Regions from separate parts of the Homo sapiens genome. Here region 2 is linked to region 1. The links are contacts of gene promoters, found by promoter capture Hi-C in blood cells and fetal thymus (Javierre and others, 2016). All regions are on one chromosome and are shown on one strand. The core of a region is centred on a gene start or on the middle of the fragment in contact, and the rest is flanking DNA. Distances in the headings are between cores, read along the strand shown.

The links. Contacts are between HindIII fragments. The CHiCAGO score rates a contact against its expected background, and 5 or more counts as called.
Region 2: a contact is called between a fragment that was not itself captured here and the fragment with the promoter of PKNOX2 in region 1, in 2 of 17 cell types (endothelial precursors and M2 macrophages). The highest score is 7.3, in endothelial precursors.

The regions. Positions count from the first base shown.
Region 1 is chr11:125,163,418-125,166,117 of GRCh38, reverse strand. It overlaps PKNOX2 (PBX/knotted 1 homeobox 2), which reads right to left and starts at 1,367. Exons shown (of 13, transcript NM_001382323.2): 1 at 1,342-1,367. PKNOX2-DT (PKNOX2 divergent transcript) reads left to right here and starts at 1,509. Exons shown (of 3, transcript NR_125759.1): 1 at 1,509-1,777. RefSeq lists a silencer at 1,505-1,654. The HindIII fragment of the contact is 6,114 bases long and covers 1-2,700 here.
Region 2 is chr11:125,326,874-125,329,573 of GRCh38, reverse strand. All of the region lies in intron 2 of PKNOX2 (PBX/knotted 1 homeobox 2), which reads right to left. Among named protein-coding and RNA genes, the nearest start is that of PKNOX2-AS1, 61 kb to the right of the region's middle. The HindIII fragment of the contact is 2,455 bases long and covers 52-2,506 here.

The sequences.
Region 1 (2,700 bases), core at 118-2,617:
CCTCGATCCCGATTCCGTAAACAGTCTGGATCCTATAAACCGAACTCTAGACTGGTCCTAAAACCCAGCCCTAATTCAGGCCGATCCACAAGCCCCTACCCCTCAATTCCCAACCCGAGTCTCCCCACCGCGCGGAAACCCCCGGCTCCCCCGTGAAGAGCCCCGGGAAAGGACGGCCCATTTCGCTCGTTTCTTCCTGGGGATCGGGAGCCAGGAAAGCCCGTCTCCTAACCCGAAAGAAATGCAAACTTTGAGCGGCAGATTCGGGATCCTGCGCCATCCCCCTCAGCTCTCCGCTCTCGATCGCTTTCAGTTCCCTCTTTTACGAACTCATCCCCTAGTTCTCGAGCCAGAAGGGCTCCCGATTCCCAAGCCTCGCGCGGGCCCCTACGCCCGCCTCACCAAAGATCCCCAGCAATCATGGAAAGCCGGTGACCCTACACATTCTCGCTCCTCCCTGGGTGAGGGTCCGTGCGTGTAGCCCCTCGGATCCTGGCTTCCCGGGCCCCGCCGGTGTTCCCCTGTCTCCACTGATCCGTCTGCAAACCCTCATTCGCCCTGCCTCCCCAGGCCGCGGCCGCGGCTCCTCGACTCCTCCGGTCACCTGGCCCCAGCCTGGGACCGCTCCCGCCTCCAGCCGCTGGAAAGCATCTCCAGGCTGGTGGCGCGGAGTAAGCGCCGGCCCCAAGGACGCCCGAAGCCGGGAGAAAGAGAACCTGGAGCCTGCCCGCGGTTCCCAGCCTCTCCCCGCGGAGCGCCCGGCCGGGAGCCTTCTGCACCCGGGCTCGGGCCGGCGTGCCTGTTCCTATTCTCGGGTCCCCTGGCGCTCCTGGCGCACAGCTCCCCGCCCGCCCGCTACGGGGTTGGGCCCGCGGCGATTCGAGTCCGCAGCCCGGCTCCTTGCACCCGAGGACAATGCGCGGCCGGCCACGGGCCCAAGCGCGGCGAGGCGGCGGCGGCGGCGGCGGCGGGGCTGAGCGCTGGCCGGGCAGGGGAGCGGGCGGCCCGCGGGGCTCTCGCAGCCTCCGTGCCCGGCCTCGCCGCCCCTCGCGCTGCTCCGCTCCGCGCTCTCCCGGCGCTTCCCCAGCTTCTCTCTGCACGCTCCCGCCGTCCCTCGCTGCTCCCTGCCTCCCTCCTCCCTGCTGCCTCCCTCTCTCTCCTCCCTGCTGCCTCCCTCTCTCCCTCTCTCCTCCTTGCCCTGTCGCAATGAATAATACTCTGGCTTGGGGACTGGAATAAAACACACGCGCTCTGAGGCAGCCGCCCGCAGCAGCAGCCGCCGCCGCGCCGCCGCCGCCGCCTGCAAAAGCGTCTCTGACATGGAAATGAATGACAGCTTACCTGATGCCAATCTTCATCAGACTGACACCGGCGTGACAACACAGCCTATACTTCCCAGCACTGCTCGGGACGTCAGCGGCACAGGGACCCGCCCCCCGGACCCCCCCTTCACACACCTCCCCTCTCCCCACTCCCCCTTTTCTCCCCACCCCCCATCACCCCCACCCACTCCCGGCCCGGCCGCTGCCAAGTCGGAGGAGCCGCTGGAGTGTCTCCCTCTACCGGAGGCTCTCGGGCGGCGGGCGCGGGCCTGCTCCTGCGGCAGGGAGGCGGGCGGCCTGGAGAAGCGGCTCCGCTCGCGAGGAGCCTCGGATGGGGAGTGCGGTGGACCCCCAGGAACTCTGGAGCACCCTCCCGCCCCCAAGCCAAGTCCTCCTTAGCGAACAACCGGGGCCGAGTTCCAAGATATCACCGGTGCTGAGGGGACCGAGATGAGGTGAGATTTTCTGTGGACCCCAAGAGAACTCCCCAGAAATGATGAAACTTAAAACGGGCAAGAAATCCTTCCTTCCACCAGCACTCCCCCTCCCCCTTTTCCTGCCTGGCTGGCCTCATTTTTATGATTGCATTTGAATAATTCTCATTACCCTGGCCCCAGAAAAGGTGTTCAGATGACACTCTGGTTAGTTATTCCTGGTCTCAAGAGCTTTTTCTGCTGTGGGCTTCCCGGGGTGTCTGGTTCAAGGTGGGGCAGAGGGAGAGAGGAAAGAGTGGATAGGCTTTGTCAGTAAAGCACTTCTTTGCAAATGTCAGGCAAGCCTGTTCTAAGCCACTGCTATTTTCATTCTAATAAAAAGTCCTCAAGAAACTCAGTGAGTTCCCAGAGTTCTGGGGGCTGGGGTGCAGTCATATAAAGGGAAAGACCAGCTGGGCTGTTTCAGCCTGGGCCTGCTGGGGTGGCTTCATCTACATCAGGGAGGAAATGGGCTCCTTACATGCCCTCTACAGTGGAAGACAAAAGCAGGCATGTGTAGACCCACAAGCGCCTCCATTCACTCAGCAGAGATCACAGTCCTACTAAGAGCCACACACAGGAGCACACTTGCTTGCTTCCTCAACTTAGCACATGGCCCTCCGCATAAAGGGACAAGAGAACCCCTTCTGCCTCTGGAAGTTTGCTTCTTGCTCCCCATAGAGGAGCCCTTTCAGCCAGTCAGGCAGCCATTGATCCTCTGACCCCAGGCCAGGCAGGGGGCCTGGAAGAAGCCCAGACAAAGACACCGACAAAAGCGGGAAAGCAGAAAGTGAAACCCAGCCTCTGGGTTTTCAGTAAAGAATCTGACCCAAGAAGTTGAAGGCTGCCCCTGAGCTCTTCTCAGGCCTCTGGGTCGCCACTCACCCGCCTCCGTCATGGGCAAG
Region 2 (2,700 bases), core at 30-2,529, 160 kb before region 1:
TCATGCTATGGTTATCTTAGATATCTTTCATCTCCTTCCAAACTATAAGCTTCTCATGGGCAGAAGTCCTATCTTAAATCTGTATAATTTTTTCAGTTCACAAAGTACTTTCATGTGTAATATCTTCTTTAACTCTTAAAACAACCTTTAAAAGTAGGTATTTTAATATGATGATTTTGTTACCTTTAAAAAATAGCAAATGCTTCTTGTAAAAAATAGACAAATAAGAGGAAAAATGTTAAGTTAGTAGCAATCCTACAATACAAATATAAGCTACAGTTAATATTTGGAGTAAAATGCTTCTTTTTTAAAAGCAGTATCATATTTTCATACTGTTCACTAAATAGCCTTTTGTATTTAACAACATATCATAAACACCTTTTCATGTAGGAGGAAAATATATTATAATTTTAATGATTATGGCATTCCATTTATGGGTATACTATAATTACTCAGACAAATTCTTCACATTTGTTGTTTAGATTATTTCCAGTTTTTGCTATTATAAACACATAATGACTATTCTTGCAGTGGACTCTTGCTCCAGACTTGATCATTTTCTTAGGATAAGTTTCTGGATGTGGAATTGCCAAGTCCAAAGGTGTGTTCGTCTTAAGGAATTTTTACAAATTACTTGCAGGAAGGTCATACCCATTTACATCCTATCAGCAGCGTATGAGAGATGCCTTTCCCTTGCCAGGTAGTTGCTCTTATTTTGTAGATGTGGAAAATGAGGCTTAGGAAAGTCAAGCACAGGGCTTGCCTAAGAAAACAGCCAGCAAGTGGCGTGTCTTCTGACTCCAGACATTTTGTTCTCCCAAGCTCTCTGCTTCTCTTTGCCCTTCTATTTCTTACCAATCCAAAGAGAGTGCCTGCAGTAGTAAGTGCTAAATTAATGTTGCACTCCCGGAAGGAGAGGCAGAGGCGGCTGTGCCCTGAGTGGTGGGGTGGGCCAATCCTGGGAGCTTTGCTAACATCAGCCTTTTCCGGGTGTCTGAGGCTGACTTGGTAAATGACAGATCTGTTCTTTGGTAGCTTTTTACTACTCCTTCCTGCCCTGTACCTGGGAAGGTACAAATTGCTTCAATTTAGTCCCCATATATTAAGAATCTACCTTGTGCTGGGGCCTGGGCATCAAAGACACAACACACATACTATCTGTCTCTGTCTCTGTCTCTCTTTCTCTCTCACTCACTCTCTCTCTCTCTCTCACTCACTCTCTCTCTTTCTCTCTCTCTCCCCCGCTCTCTCCCTGTCTTCTAGGTGTTTACAGTCTAGTGGGCAAAATAGAAGGTAAAGAAATAATTGCCACCTACAATGTGTGTGTGATGCTGCTTCTGACTGTCAGCCTCCAGATCCCACAATGGCCAGAGCAGGGCTCAGGGCCAGGGTCAGGGCTGGGGAGGGGAGGAAGCCCTGCCTGCCTGGTGTGGCCTCCAGCCTCTGTCTCTTTCATTGTGTCCCTCCTGGTGCTGGGGTTCCAGGGCTCCCTTCGACATCCTGCCATAGCCATGTGTTCCTTGTCTTTCTGCTCTAGCTGAGCCTCTGCTGCCCCCACCCCAAGACGACACAGAGGAGCTACAACTCAGAGAGGAATCACTCCAATATTAGGGAAAGAAGCTGACCCTGTTCTCCACTCAGGGAATAAAACACACATTTGAGAGAGGAAGGACGATCAGAGGTGACACCAGCATGCCCTCACACAGGGCACCGCTTCAGGGCTACAATACACTTGGAATTCTCCTTCCCAGAACTGACAACTGCCGAGTTCCATTTGTTTCCCAACAGCCTACAGAAAGCTACAAGGCATAAATACAGTCTGTAATCTCCTTCCTGTCACTGCCAGCAATTCCACCAAGCACAAGGGGGACCACTCACATGACAGAGAGCCAGGACTGCAGGGAGGAGGAGACCCCTGATGGCCGCGGCCATCCTCCCAGTCTCCAACCCTCCTCTTGCCCTCCACACTCAAGCTGTGTGCCCCTTTCTAGATTGCAGGCAGAGGGACCCAACAATCTCCTTTTTGTCACCATGCAGAGCTCTTCCTCTCTGAAAGCTAATAAGCAGCACAGCAGGCAGGGCCAAGCCACAGATGCAGACAGAAAGTCAGAGAGAAATGGAAGGATGGGAAGACACGGGGCTGTGTGACCCAATGACCCGGATGGTTCAGGGAACAAGAAAGGAAGCAAGAGCTTCACACTGAAGATAAAGTTCCTCTGTCCTCACGACCTCCCCACCTCCAGCACTGTAGCTCCCACAGGCCTCTCTCTGCCTATCCAAGTTCATTCTACTGGACCCGTCTATGGACATGGGCTGGCTTCCCCACAGATCACCTTTGCCTGTTTTGCCAACTTGTGCTTAGGCTTTTTGCAGATGAGTTGGATAAGTGAAGACCGAGCCTCTGGAATCTGTGGCCAGAGACCCAAACTAAAGACTTGTCCCCTGTCCACTCTGGGAAGGTTACCCCCACTCTGGTATCTATCTCAGGAGCATAAAACACCAAGCTTTTTTGTCCCAGTTGGCCCAAGAGCCTAAAAAAGCATCTGTTCTCACTCTGGAGCCCACCAAGGGCCTCTTCTTCCGTGAGTGCGGTGATGAAAGTGTGGTTTGCCTACACGGACACGCCAGCAGTCCCTAATAGCTGATGTTTGTGAATCCTCAGGCTTCACCTCCCTGCTGGCGGGGGTGAGCTATGGAGGT